2 separate regions of the Homo sapiens genome follow, and region 1 is linked to region 2. The links are contacts of gene promoters, found by promoter capture Hi-C in blood cells and fetal thymus (Javierre and others, 2016). All regions are on one chromosome and are shown on one strand. Each heading gives the region's core, a stretch centred on a gene start or on the middle of the fragment in contact. The rest is flanking DNA. Distances are from core to core; before and after follow the strand shown.

What was found. Contacts are between HindIII fragments. The CHiCAGO score rates a contact against its expected background, and 5 or more counts as called.
Region 1: a fragment that was not itself captured here is called in contact with the fragment with the promoter of SPCS3 in region 2 in 1 of 17 cell types (activated CD4 T cells); the score reaches 5.6 in activated CD4 T cells.

The regions. Positions count from the first base shown.
Region 1 is chr4:173,162,832-173,166,665 of GRCh38, reverse strand. It overlaps GALNT7-DT (GALNT7 divergent transcript), which reads left to right. Exons shown (of 7, transcript NR_134242.1): 3 at 1-21; 4 at 367-542; 5 at 1,534-1,688; 6 at 2,313-2,373. Among named protein-coding and RNA genes, the nearest start is that of GALNT7, 4.1 kb to the left of the region's middle. RefSeq lists an enhancer at 665-744. The HindIII fragment of the contact is 579 bases long and covers 1,338-1,916 here.
Region 2 is chr4:176,317,143-176,321,224 of GRCh38, reverse strand. SPCS3 (signal peptidase complex subunit 3) reads right to left here and starts at 1,259. Exons shown (of 5, transcript NM_021928.4): 1 at 1,006-1,259. The coding sequence starts at 1,148. SPCS3-AS1 (SPCS3 antisense RNA 1) reads left to right here and starts at 715. Exons shown (of 4, transcript NR_186171.1): 1 at 715-1,080. RefSeq lists silencers at 546-625, 656-725, 846-965 and an enhancer at 948-1,448. The HindIII fragment of the contact is 6,231 bases long and covers 1-2,320 here.

The sequences.
Region 1 (3,834 bases), core at 378-2,877, 3.2 Mb after region 2:
ACCCTGGTGATTTTGATCCAGGTAATCTGGGCACCACCTTTGGAGAAACACTGAAAGGAAGCAAGGTTGCGGGGGGTGGTTGGGAAAAGTCTTATATGGATATCTTTGGAAGACAGAAATAGGCTCATTTATGGACTCAACTTGAACTGTTCAGAAGTGAGGTGGACTCCTTTTCTTTTTTATTTATTTTTTTTTTGAGTTGAGGTCTTGCTCTGTCACCCAGGCTGGAGTGCAGTGGCACATCCATAGCTCACTGCAGCCTGGAACTCCTGGGCTCAAGTGATCTTCCCACCTCAACCTCCCGAGTAGCTAGGACCACATGTGTGAGTCATCATGCCCAGCTAATTTTTTTTTTATTTTTTGTAGAGACGGGGTCTATTATCTGGTCCTGTTGTCAAGGCTGGTCTCAAACTCCTGGCCTCCAGCGATCCTCCCTTTTTGGCCTCCCAAGATGCTGGTATTACAGGCATGAGCCACCATGGTCCACCCGGACTCCTTTTCATAGGAGACAGTTCCCTAGGCAGAGACTGGGCTTGAAACAGGTAACTTACAAGGCATCCTGTGATCATAAGAGAATAATTCCATTTGAAATCAGCAGCTGAAGTCCACCTGAATAATTAAGTCTTTCACTTGTGTTATTTTCACAGGGGAGACAGTTTTTTATTCTTAAGAAGGTAGGAAGCTTTATTTTTACTGTTATGAGCATAGCTGGGCAAGTATGCAAATGGAAAGTGATACCTATCATCAAAGTATTGAGGATGGTCCTTTGAAGGCCCTAGTATTCTGAGAACATCCTGCCACCACTACCACCCCCCAACTTTAGTTTTACACAGAGAACTTAAAATATGTGTGAAAGAGTATATAGTTATACAGTTGTATATTGATGAATAGGTATATAGTTGTAAAAGTTTATGTTTCTCTGAGTCTTAATAACTTTTAAAAGAAACTGCAAGTAAACTAACACAGGAACAGAAAACGAAATATTGCATGTTCTCACTTATAAGTGGGAGCTAAATGATGAGAACACATGGACACATAGAGGGGAACAACACACACTGGGGCCTATTGGAGGGTGGAGGGTGGGAGGAGGGAGAGGATCAGGAAAAATAACTAATGTGGGTACTAGGCTTAATACCTGGGTGATGAAATAATCTGTACAAACCCCCATAACACAAGTTTACCTATGTACCAAACCTGCACATGTACCCCTGAACTTAAAAGTTTAAAAAAAGTGCAAATATACCTTAAAACATATGCCCATTGCAGTATTTGCTGGGAGGCAGCCTTTGTAGGGTTGACAGAACTCGTTTAGAAAATGAGGAGCTACATTCAAAGCTTCAGTCAAGATAAATCACGTACCTCTCTGAACCTAGGGCTTTTATCTGCCAAATAGTGATTACAATACTCAACCTTATGATGTTCTCAAAAGGAATAATTGAGATCAAGTACATATACAAATATAAAGTACAATTAGTGTAATGGAACAAGTCTCAGGTGCGTGTGGCTATAATTCTTGTTTTATGAATGCTGCAGTTCCTCTAAAGAAGAGGGTAGAGACTAGAACTGAATGAGATGGACATAGAGATGGCCAAGAAAAGCATCGTCCTCTGCCAAGTCATGGGGTCATGTGTGGTGGATGGTGACATGGTGTCCTCAGCTCAGAGTCCAGCTGGGGGCTCAGAAGCAAGGTAACTGAAGGGAGAGAATTATTTGAGCACCTAGTGTGTGTAAGATGCTTCACATTTATTATTTCACCTAACCTCTACACAACCTGTTGTGGGTATTACTGGTCTCAAGCTGGGATTCAAAGCAGGTTTTTCCAACCTCAGAATTCTTGCCAGACTGATTAGCCTTCTGCATCTGGAACATAAATGTTTTCAGGCAGCATAATGTGCAAGAGGTCAGAGCCTAAAGCTTTGTTATTTTTTAATTTCTCCACCATGTCAACTCTGTTACAGGGAAGCCCAGCAGAGGGAATTGTATCCATTTTGGGGCTACACTACCCCAATGCTATGCTGCAGCCAAGCTGAACTTCTAAGTTTCTAAATGTAACTCACTTACCTTCAGGCCTTTGTACGGGGAGTTCTTTTTGCCTGAAATACCTTCTGACATCTTAACATTACGCTTAGATGTCAGTTACAAAAAAGCTTTTTCTAGACTCTCTCACATGTCCCACTCCACACCCCTATATCTCTTCCCACCAATGTACTAGGGTAGGTATCCTGCTAGGTACTTCCACTGCACCCTCTACTTTTCTTCCCTAATGATTACCACTATATTGTAATTGCTTAATTTCTTTTTCCTATACCCAGATAAAAATGTGTATGAAGGTGGAGCCTTGTCTATCTAGTTCGTTATTGTTATCCGTGTCTGGTATGTGGAAAGGGCTCAGTGAGTATTTCTTGATGGAATGCTGAATGAATAATGGGATTGAAAATATAAAAGGCAGACAAAACTTAGAAGAGGGGCCAGGTTTACTTCAATTGCTATTCCTCCTCACTGGGAGGTTTTTCTTCCAAGGACAAAACTTTGGAGGTTTTATTAAATTAGAAAAGTGATTATTTTACATATGGTCATCATCATCAATTGATAGGCTGTTGTTTCCCCCTTACTCAGCATCCTACTAAGGCTGCTTAGAACTAAGAAGAAAGGGTAATTTTAATTTAAGTTCATATTTTTGTATGTACGGAGATTTAAAAAAAACAGCTACATTAAAATGGGAATATGTAGCCATAGGGAATTATTTGCAAACAAATTTCAGTATTATCTATGTGTGGTTGCCAAGAACTCAGGTTAAATTAGAGTCAGTGACCTCTAAATGACTAAATATCCTATCACCTATTCTATAAGCCATTTAATCACCTCTTTTCAAAGAAGAAGAGCACAATTGGTAGTATCTTTAAAGGAAGATACATTTTATTGTTTAGAAAATAACTACTATTTAGATATCAAGGGAAGCATAGTGTAAGTTTGTTAAGAATTTATTAATTTTGTGTACTGTTCATTAGTTACCTCTTACTGCTTAACAAATGACTCCAAAGTTTAGCACTTTCAAACAACAAACATTTACTTCACACAGTTCCTGAAGTCAGGAATCTAAGAGTGGCTTAACAAGGTGGTCTGGCTCAGGGTCTCTCATGAGGTTCTTACCAAACTATCAGCTGGGACCACTATCATAACCAACTGGGCCTGGAGAATTTGCTGTCAAGTTCACCCACATGGCCAGCAGGCAGGCCTCAGTTCCTCACTGGCAGGCGGTGGGAGGCTTCAGTTCCTTGTCACCTGGGCTTCTCCACAGGGCTACTCATGACATGCCAAGCTGACTTCCCCCCTTCATGAAAGATCTGAGGGAGAGAGAGCCCAAGGCAGAATCCACAGTCTTGTATAAGAAATAATCTGTATACTGCCTTCATCTGTAAAATGAAGGTGTTGGACCAAATGATCTTTAACATTCTTTCCAATACTGAAATTCTGAGATTTTCCTATGATGCCGATGTGTGATTGAGACTAATTTGTGCTTTCATGTGGAATACTATGAGGTAAAATCCTGCCTTTGTACTTTTTTTCTGACATGGGGTACTATTTCTATCATAAGCTTGAGATGGATAATTCCTGAGTTGTGCTCATCTGGAATAAAGGACTGTTGTCAAGGGCTTCCATTTAATGAGGTTAAGGGTCTCCTACAGTGTTTGGAAAGCAAAAATATTTATGTAAAAGCCCTCAGATTTCACATCGTAGAACACTACCTCTTCATAATTTGGTACTGTTTTTGGACTCCCATAATTCAGAAGTGCTCTTCTGATCTAACCATTTATTTAAGAGGTGATTGAAACG
Region 2 (4,082 bases), core at 10-2,509:
CAGGTCTATTCGAACAATATCTAACAAACATCAGTACAGTAATTTAAAAAAAAAAAAAAAAGGTGGGGGGAGAAGGCTCGCTATTTGATAACTGGCTTCTTGGCGATTCTGACAAAGAAATAAACTAAGGTTAAAGAACTTGTGTAAGACGGAAATAGAGTAGAAGGGTATGAGAACAAGAGATGGAAAAATACGACGATTAAAGACAAAAGTGCCAGAGAATAAAATCAAGGACAAAATAGGCAATAGCGAAATGGCACTGTCATTTCGAACTGCATTTTTTGGCGTTTTCGCAGACTTCTTCAAGTGGTTGGCAAAAGAAAAAGAAATAAAGAAACCCAACAAAACAAAAATCTCGCTGTATCAGAAGGCTAAGATGCTTAATTCTCTCAGTGCCCAACATCTCTGGCCAACTTCAAAGCAGCTCCAACTGTTTACTGCCTTCTGAAGGTGCAAAGGCAACAACTGTAAAGGGAATGTCAAACAGGGCAAACTCGGGTGATGAATGACACAAAGACAACCCCGTCCTGTGGCCTCCAGAGCCGCCAGGAAACCCCACGGAAGCCCGACCCAGAGCGCGGCGGCAGCGCCTGGAGGGCCTCGCATGCGGACCACGAGCGGCACCGGACGCGCGGGAGGCGCCAGCCCAGGCGGGCGGCGGCGCCGGCTCTGCTGTTGTGTTGCTCCCTCATTGGCCAGGCGTGGGTGGAGGGAAGTGAGGAACAGGAAGCAAGCGGAGGCACCGACCTGAGGAACGCTCAAAATTAAAATTTAAGAGCAAGCCCGGGAATTTACGGTGGAGGGGTGCAAGTTCCGAGGGGACGCCGGAAAAGCCTGCGACGTCCACCCCTGACGACCGCCCTCGGGGGCGAACTGCCGCTCAGGAGGGCGATCCGGACGCCCTGCCCGCGGCCCCGGCACGGCAGCCCCGGCGCGGCGGCCCGGCTTCGGCTTCCGCCCCAGCCCGGTCCCGGCGTCCTGCACCGCCGGCCCGGCCTCACTCACAGCATGATCCGCGAGACGTGCAGCCGCACCGGGACGCTCCTGTCTTTGAAGGCGGTGGTGATGAAGCAGCCGAAGGTGAGCGCCGCCATCACGCTCAGCGAGAAGGCGAACAGTGAGTTCGCCCGCGACAGCACCGTGTTCATCGCGATCGTCTCCCACGAGTCCGGACTCCACACGCACACCCAGGCTCCCGTTCCGGCGGCGGACCGGCTCCCTGCGATCCGCGCCGTCTGCGGTGCGCGCGTTCCGGGAGCGCGCGCCGCCGCAGCCCCGCCTCCTTTCCGGTCCTCCGACGCGAGCGCGCGCGCGCCCGCTTCCCGAAACACACCCACAGCGCGCACGGGGCGGCGCGGAAAGGGAGAGACTCAGCCGCGGGCCCGCCCCTCCGTCGCGGCCTAACGCCGCCACCAATCAGCGACGAGTGAGGGAGGGGCGGGGTTTGTTGTGGAAGACCCACCCCCTCCTCTTCTAAATTGCTTCTCCGACCTTTGGGTTCAGAGAATTGGGAACCGGTCGTTCGCTGTCCTTTTTCGGTTCTTTGGTCAGAGGTCTGGGACTGCGACTTCTTGATTACTTATGTACCATTTATTTTCACTTGAAACCGGCAGCAAGTTAAGGTGGTTTAGAATCTGTCCTGACGGGTGGCGTTTGGAAGCAGCACTTTACAAAACGCCTGGTCCTCTCCCTTCTTTGTCAAACCTGGTCAAAGTTAGGACTTGAGCTTTTTTTGGAGGATCTGAGGAGCAGTGGGGAGTGGGGAATTAGCCGCCCAAGTCCTTAAAGCTGTCACGTGCATCAGTATTTCCACCTCCAACGTCAGTCCAATTCCTATTAATGCTTTGCTTTGTATGGATAGCTAAAGATGTTTTAGAAGATAAGGGTTGAGGCTACCGATCCTAAGTATTTGCATTTTAACATGGTGATTTCTGATAAATAAAAGGATAACCTTTCTGGGTTCTTAGGAGCAAAGAAGATAATGGCTGCGGAATTGCTCTACAGCATAATGTATAAGAATTTCGTTGGGTCATTAATAAATAATGCAATTATTTTATCACATTTTCAATATCCTGAAGGGCATTAGGGTTCAAACCGAGCCAATCCTGACTCTGATTATACTATCTGCCAAAACCTTTGTTCCTTTCACAGCTAAGGGTTTTTATAAAAATGGATTCAGGGTCTGCTGAAATAAATTTTTTTTAAAAATTTCAGTCCATAAACCAAACAAAAATATCTGTCCTGGAATGTGATCAGGAACAAACCAGAAAACTGTGAACATCTGATCTTGATACTGGCTTATGTTGTCTCTTGTTAAGCTTTTGCTTCTTTGCATTATTCATGACCATTCAATTAATTTTTGTATAGCCATACAGGTAGGATTATTACCAAGTGCCTACCGTGTACCAGGAATAGTTCTAAGCCTTGAGAATACAGCACTAATAAGGCAGACTCCCTGCTCAAATAGAGCCAACTAATGAAAAATCGATAAAATAGAGACTAAAGAGAGATCCTTAGTTGCGTTTAAAATCTTAGTTTTTAACTTCCAGGCTGGCACAGTTTGTTAACAAAAAAAGAAAAAAAAGGATTTTTATTGAATGCCATCTATACTGCAAGTGATACAGAGATTGTACTGATCACTTTCTACACTCAAAAGTATATAATCAGGTAGAGTTAATAAAATAAAAACAAATCTGAAATGTAAAACAAAAAAATACCCTGGGAAGTTACATAGCAAAGGAGGAAGGAATTACAGCCCTGGTAATGTGGGACAACACAGTGTGCAAATTATTTAACACAAAGCCTAAACAAGACACATTATTATTATAGCATGTTTTAGGGAAATAATTCTTGTTGTTGAACTGCAAGTACAGGTATATCTAAGAGATACTCAGAAGGCTGGTCCTGATAAACAATGCATGTATAAAAGAGTAAGCAGAAATAAGCCTGGAAAGGTAAGTTATGGTAGAAAACCAGGTCAAGAAGTTGACTTTATATCAGGGAAATTACATGTAAAACAAGCATCGCTACACAGGCAACCATTTACCAGTTATATGTGGAGAGTGAGTGATGGACCCAAAAGGAAGACTGATAGGAGGGGCATTTCGGAAACAAACTCTATGTTACTTAGCAACTGCCTAAATAAGAGTGGGGGTCTGCAAAGCATAGAGTGAATGCAGATTGTGAACACTCAAATGAAACTAGTATTATTATTATGACACCACAGTTTTTAACTTGACTTACTGGTAGTGCTAAAAACACATAAAAGTCCACAAAAAGAGCAGGAGAGGGATGGGATAGGGAATTTTCTTATTCTGTTTTATTTTTCCAAGTGTTTCTTTAGATTTTCTAGACATTTATATCACCTACATTAGATATCATTTTGCCTTTTCCGTTCCAATTATTATATTTCCAATTGTTTATTCATTTCAGTAGCTAATATTTCCAACATGATATTCAGTCAGATGGGGACAACTGATATCTTTTTGTTCCTGATTTGAGCAGGAAATTTCCTTTCATTTCTCCATCAAGTAAGATGTTGGCTTTGAGATGGAAATTGTGTGTGTGTGTGTACATGTATCATTATATAATATATATTGCATATTGATAGGAAATATCTATTCCTATTGGGAAATTTTTAAAAATATAAACAAGTGCTAAATTGTTTTCAGATGCATTTTCCCTATCTTATTTCCTCTACTTCTTTCCTCTATCTTATTTCCTCTGCTTATTTAATGGGTTATATGAATAGATTTTATAATATTGGCCCAGTAAGCATTCCTGGAATAAACTCCACCTGGTCATGATGAATTAGTTTTTAATATGCTCTTGTGCTTTCTTTGCTAATTTTGGGGTTTTTTGTTTTTTAGTTTGTGTAATCAATATTCATAGTGAAACTGATGTGTTTTTTTGATTGTAATATTATACTCAAATTAGAAAATATATATTTCTAATATAACAAGGAAAATAAGTTTTCCTTAGTTTTCTGTGCACTGGGATATTTTAAGTAGCATTTGGATCTGGTCTTTAAAAATTTGATAGAAAATTTGGTAGAAATTCCCAAGGGAGTCTATTCTTCTATT